2 separate regions of the Homo sapiens genome follow, and region 2 is linked to region 1. The links are contacts of gene promoters, found by promoter capture Hi-C in blood cells and fetal thymus (Javierre and others, 2016). All regions are on one chromosome and are shown on one strand. The core of a region is centred on a gene start or on the middle of the fragment in contact, and the rest is flanking DNA. Distances in the headings are between cores, read along the strand shown.

Region 1 (3,009 bases), core at 263-2,762:
TAAATGTCATAGGAATTTAGAAATATTGCAATTTAAAGCATAATCTAGAATTTTTTTAAAAGTAGTTCTGAAACATACAAAAAAATGAACATTTAGGAAACTAGTCCTTCAAAGAAAATATTATATTTTATCATTAAAAATATCAATCGCAAAAATATTTTCAAAGCACTTAAGTTCAATAAAGAATATGAGGCCGGTGGACATTTTAGTTTTAATTTTAAAAAGAAATTATATTCTTTTTAATGTAAAGAAATGAGAAAACGACATCCAAAAAGTCTTCAGCCTGGGATTCTACAAAACTTTATACCTCACTGATGCCATGGTTTTACAGCAGTTATTGTTTAAGAACTAGAAACAAACTTGTAAATATGAAAAAAGTTTTTGATTTTAAAAAAAACCATCATTAGTGTTTCTCTTTTCCTTCAAGTGAGTTTTAAAAGACTGAGATGGCCACCAGTTGATTCAAAGATCTCTTAAGACATAATTATTAGCAAGTTAACTATCAAATATCATATAATTTAAATCAGGGAGAAAAATTATGTGAAGTACACAAGAAGACAAAAATGGACAGTTTTGTAATACACTTCACTTTTTGGCTGAGACATTACCTTTAAAGTTTCGTATATTAAAGTGAATATTCAAATACACTTTATTTGGAATCAAATAAAGTGTATTTGATTCCAAAGTGAATCTGATTGAAAATATACTACACAAAACTTACTTTAAAACTTGAACAGAATGTTTTGATATATTACTCCAAATGCTAACTGGTAGCATCTATGAGTGTCTTCTGTCAAACTCCCCTAGGAGTGAAAGGTATTTCTTTAAGAGAAAAGCCACAGTGAATGTCCATGCCAGTCCCTATACCAGAAAGGTTTTCTAAATCATCTAGCACCATCAGTTGGTTCTGTTCTCAGTCAGCAATCGATCACTTAGCAATAGACAGAAAGACTGCCATAAAATACCTGAAACCTGTCGAAGATTTGCCCAGGTCCTTTTAAAGAGTTAAGTTATTCATTGTTCTCTTAATAAATCCAGTTAACAATTTGTCTCACGAATGACAGAAACAGTTGGGGTTAAAATAATGTACTTCAAAATCAGAGGTTTTCCAGGAATAGGTATTATACAACTCAGTTTATCATTGTCTGGTTTTATATCCAAATGATAATTTACACAAATAAACTTTACATTTTGTCCCTAATCTTGCAAGGAAAAGAAGAAAAATTTTAGTTTCTTCATGGCAGACGACTATTTTTGACTTGATTTCTTTTATAACAATGACACTATTTTTACAACCGTTAGCCTATGACCCAAGTGAATTGGATTCTTCTTATAAAACAAGAGCACTGCAAAAAAAAATGATATAAGGATAATACAATAATTTTGCAAATTTCGGACCTATCACCAACACATTCCAACAAAATGCAATGAGAGTGAGCCAACTCACCTAAGGAAAGGGAATTAAGCAGAATGCAGAAATGCAGGCTTCTGGTCACCAGCAGAGGTTAAGGCCCCTTCCTTACCTACCACTGACCTTATATAAAAGCCGCAGCTCGGTTACTCCCCGTTTCTGACTCCTTACCTTAGGCTCCTCCCTAAACACCGAGGCGTAAAGTACCACGACTACACACCCACCTTCCACCAAGGGACCTGAGATTTCTGTTAACCTCTGCTGCCTCTACCCCCCTCAGTTAGGCTCCCAGGAGGAGTGGTCAGCGCCTGGCACTTGCAGGAGCCCACAAAGCAGCGACTTCGCCTTTCCAGCCCCCCGGGGTGCGGCTGGGGGTCCTGGCTGCGCGCTCCATCCGCGGAGGCACGGAGGCACCCAGTCCCCGTCCCCAGCCCCTCCGCCGGGCGTAGGGCCAGCACAACGCGTCAGGGCACAGGGCCTGGCCAGCTACAAGCGCGCCCCTCGCTGAACGGTCCCCCGGTCCCCAAGCGGCGGTCGCCCCTGGGCTCTGGACAGCGAACGGGACCTCCTCCTCAGCAGGGGTGCCGCGCGGCCTCAGGACGGACGCACGCGGATCTTCGCTTCCCCGGGTCCAGACACCCTGCTCCAAAGTTCCCCCGGAGCGGCTCCCGACGCTTGCGCACCTCCGCCGGGGACGCGGAGGTCCCCGTGTCCCCGGCTCCGCGCCCACCCGGCGCTCTCCCGAGGGGGGCTGTCCTGGAAGCCGGGACGCACCGGCTCGCGTCCACTCGAGTCGGCACCGGCCGCGGCTCTCTGTGCCCGCGCCCTCCGCCCCTAGTGCGCGCTCCGGTAGACGCGACCCTCAGCCCGGGTGCCCTCAGCCCAAGACCCCTTCACCCGGTCACCCGTGAGCCGCCCGCCCGCGACCCGTCAGTCCGGGTCCTGCCGGACCATGACCCTGCCTCAGCCCCGGACCCCTCAGCCGAGACCCCCTTCTCCCCAGCTCTCATCCGTCTGGGACCCCGTCAGTTCCCGTTTCCTCGGCCCTAGCCCCCAGACCCTCGGCCCCAGCCCTCCGCGCCCCCTCCCTGAGCACTCCCCGCCCAGCCAGCAGCCGGTTCCCGAGCGCCGCGGGCACCCGTACTCTGACCTGCGGCCACGGCGGCGTGGCGCCCCTCTCCGGTGTCCTCGAGGCCGACCCAAGCGCCCCAGGCGGCGGCTGCGGCTCGGGCTCGGGCTCCGAGTGCGCTGGGCCCCGCCTGCCCGCGGCGGAGCCGGGTCGGGCCGAGCCGGGCCCGGCGCGGGGGCGGGCGCGGGCGCCGGCTGGGGGTGGGGGTGGGGGTGGGGGTGGGGGCGGGGGCGGGGGCGGGGGCGGGGGCGGCGGCGCGCGACTGGGAGGGAGCGGCCCGGGCTCGGCCGCCGCCCGCGCACAGTAGGGCCCACGGCGGGAGCCACCGGCTTTCCCGCGTCCACTCTCTGCCCCGCGGCAGGCTACCTGGTGTCGTTTGCTCCTCGCCACCACCGCTGGGAGGCGGCCCAGAGAGGGTCCCATTTCCGAGGAGGGATCCGAAGTTTAGGGGGATGCCCCCGGCCAGGGC
Region 2 (3,009 bases), core at 301-2,800, 130 kb after region 1:
AATAATGTTGACCCTGATGAAAAGTCAGACTCCTATGGGAACTAAGATTTGAACAGATACTGGGGGTATCTGGCCTGAGGATCTCAGCATTCCTGGTTGAGGCCAGCCAAGGATGGGAAGAAGAACTTCAAAGGGCTTTAGAAATCACGTAGTTCAACTCTACTTTATGAAGAAAAAACTGAGGCCCAGAGAGGCAAAAGTCACAAAGCTACAGTGACAGTCAGAATTGGAACCCAGCCTCCCACTATCCAGTCCAGCACCATGTGGAAACATCCCACAGCAATAATCCCATGGAGATTTGGGATTTGGAGGCTTGCAACACTGTGCCCAAACAGCAGACAAGGCTCTGGTCACAGTCACCCCCAAGTCCCCTGCTTCTTTGTTTTTTCTTTTACTTTTTTTTTTTTTTTTTTTTTTTTGAGACGGAGTCTCACTCTGTCGCCCAGACTGGAGTGCAGTGGCACAGTCTCAGCTCACTTCAACCTCCGCCTCCTGGGTTCAAGCCATTCTCTTGCCTCAGCCTCCTGAGTACCTGGGACTACAGGTGTAGGCCACCACGCCCGGCTAACTTTTGTATTTTTAGTAGGGACGGAGTTTCATCATGATGGCTAGGGTGATCTCGAACTCCTGACCTCAGGTGATCAACCCGCCTTGGCTTCCCAAAGTGCTGAGATTACAGGCGTGAGCCACCACGCCCAGCCTGCTTCTTTGTTTTCTAAGCTGTCCCACCTTCTAGAACATGACAGAGTCTCCAGTGAGAAGGGACATGCAATAAAAATCAATGTAGTCTAGGGCCTCGAGAGGGCTTTGAGGTCCAAGGTTTGCCCTAAGTGATGGGACACTTTGTGTTTTGTACACCAAGAGCGCTGTCTCCAGCTATCTGGAGAGTCTGAGGCTCTGGGAGTGAGAAAGGGTTTCTAAAGCACTGGCTGCTTCTTTGACATCTCTCCCCACCCCCCAGGCAACAGAGCCAAGACACACACACCCCAACTTTCTCTGTCCTGTTCTATTACTGTTTGCTGTTGCTTTGGAGCCTCATAAATAGGGCATTGAAAGCACTTCCTGCAGCTGAAAGAAGCCCTGAGTAGCTCGTCTCATTCCCAGCGTGCAGCTCAGCAAGGGGTCCGTCCTTCTCTGTCACTGTCTCTTTTGCCTGTTGTAATTCTGTCTGCCTCTCTGGGACTCTGCCTGTCTCACTCTTTCTGTCTGTGCCTCTCCTCACTCTTGTTCTTTCTGCCTGAATCACAGCCCTCAGTTTTTCTGTCCTCATGCATTTGTCTTTGTGGCTCTTTCCGTCTTTCTGCCCTTGACACCATCCCCTCTCCCAGTGCTTCCCCTCTGCTTCCAGATCGCTTCATGACTTAGGCAGGGAAACAGAGGTCAGGGCCTCCTTCCAGGCTTCCCTCTGCATCTTACTGAGTATGCAGGTCGGAAGAGCCTCGGGTCCTGCCTCCGCGGGTGGCCTAGAGCCAAAGGAAGGCGGAGCCCGTCGGGGCGGGATTGGCCCTTAGGGCCACCTCATAAAGCCTGGGGCGAGGGGCACAACGGCCTTGGGAAGGAGCCCTGCTGGGGCCGTCCAGTCCCCCAGACCTCACAGGCTCAGTCGCGGATCTGCAGTGTCATGCCTGGGAGCCCTCGGCCCGCGCCAAGCTGGGTGCTGTTGCTGCGGCTGCTGGCGTTGCTGCGGCCCCCGGGGCTGGGTGAGGCATGCAGCTGCGCCCCGGCGCACCCTCAGCAGCACATCTGCCACTCGGCACTTGGTGAGTCCGAGGTCCGCGAGGTCCACAGCAGGGGGTGGTTGTGGGGGATTAGTATCTGGCCAGCAGTACACCAGGAGTCCAGAGGAAAAGGGAGGAGCTCAAATTCTTACCGGTTGTCTCTTGCTGAGGCTGATGGGTGGAGAAGGACCAGGCGCCATAGCAACCTTGCAAGCCCAGAACCTGACTGATTCATAAGGAAATGAAGATTTCATCAGGGACTTCCATAGCGACCTCCCTCACTCCGGCCATACTGCAATTATGGAGTGTCATTACACAAGGTGTCACCGGAGCTATCTGATGATTATTCTGAACTACTAGACTGGGGACAGAAAGGGGAGGGGAGAGGGCTTGCATTGTAACTACCCGTGTCTGTCCAGGCCTATAACTGAGGTTGCCACCAAGCCCCTATGGCAACACACACGTTCTGTCCTTTCTCTTCCCTCTGCCTGGAATGCCCTCCCTCACACCCTTAAATTCCTGGCAGACTCCTACTCATCCTTCAAGGGCTAACTTAGGTCTCTCCCCTTCTCTGCAGGCTCCCGGGCTCCTTGGTGCCGCCTCAGCATCTCTAACCGTCTTAGCGCTCCTACTATGCTGTGCTGTTGTTCTTTACACGTGTGCACTCCACTAGATCAAGAGCTCGGCAGGATGGGGACCCTGTCTTAATCACATCTATGGGCCTAGTGCCTAGTGCAAGGCCAGGCACAGAGGAAGAACATCATCAACAGTTTTTGGTTATTAATGCTCAAATGGCAAGAGATGCAATACCTCAGTGCAGGGTCAGAACATTTATGAATTCAATAAACATTTACTAATATCAACTGTAGGCGGGATGAGAGGCCTTGACCACAGCAATAGATAAACTTCACACCGACTGCCCTGAAGGGGCTCCTCCTCCCTTCTCTACTCTGACTCCTACCCTGTGCCCCACTGCACAAACGGCTATGGAGAACTAGAGCTCTCCAGACTAACTGGTTCAAAAGGCAGAAACAGCTTAGCGGTTATAGGACCTAATAAGCCTGAGGGGTTTGGAACTTCCAGTGACTGCAGGGGAGGTGTTTCCAGGTCCCCCTTCTCACACATCACGTTGCTCACAACCCAGCCACACCAAAACCAAGAACTGCCCTATAGACTTCTTCATGGACCCTGGATCATCCAGACCTCAGGTGTATTGCCCCCACCAGCTGCTGAAGGTTCCCTCTTTTCTCTTCCTATGCAGTGATTCGGGCCAAAATCTCCAGTGAGAAGG

The links. Contacts are between HindIII fragments. The CHiCAGO score rates a contact against its expected background, and 5 or more counts as called.
Region 2: a contact is called between the fragment with the promoter of TIMP4 here and the fragment with the promoter of PPARG in region 1, in 2 of 17 cell types (M2 macrophages and monocytes). The highest score is 6.7, in M2 macrophages.

Annotation. Positions count from the first base shown.
Region 1 is chr3:12,287,573-12,290,581 of GRCh38, reverse strand. It overlaps PPARG (peroxisome proliferator activated receptor gamma), which reads right to left and starts at 1,512. Exons shown (of 8, transcript NM_138711.6): 1 at 1,448-1,512. RefSeq lists an enhancer at 2,951-3,009. The HindIII fragment of the contact is 6,976 bases long and covers 1-3,009 here.
Region 2 is chr3:12,157,453-12,160,461 of GRCh38, reverse strand. TIMP4 (TIMP metallopeptidase inhibitor 4) reads left to right here and starts at 1,550. Exons shown (of 5, transcript NM_003256.4): 1 at 1,550-1,760; 2 at 2,980-3,009. The coding sequence starts at 1,622. The region is part of intron 5 of SYN2 (synapsin II); the gene reads right to left. The HindIII fragment of the contact is 8,121 bases long and covers 1-3,009 here.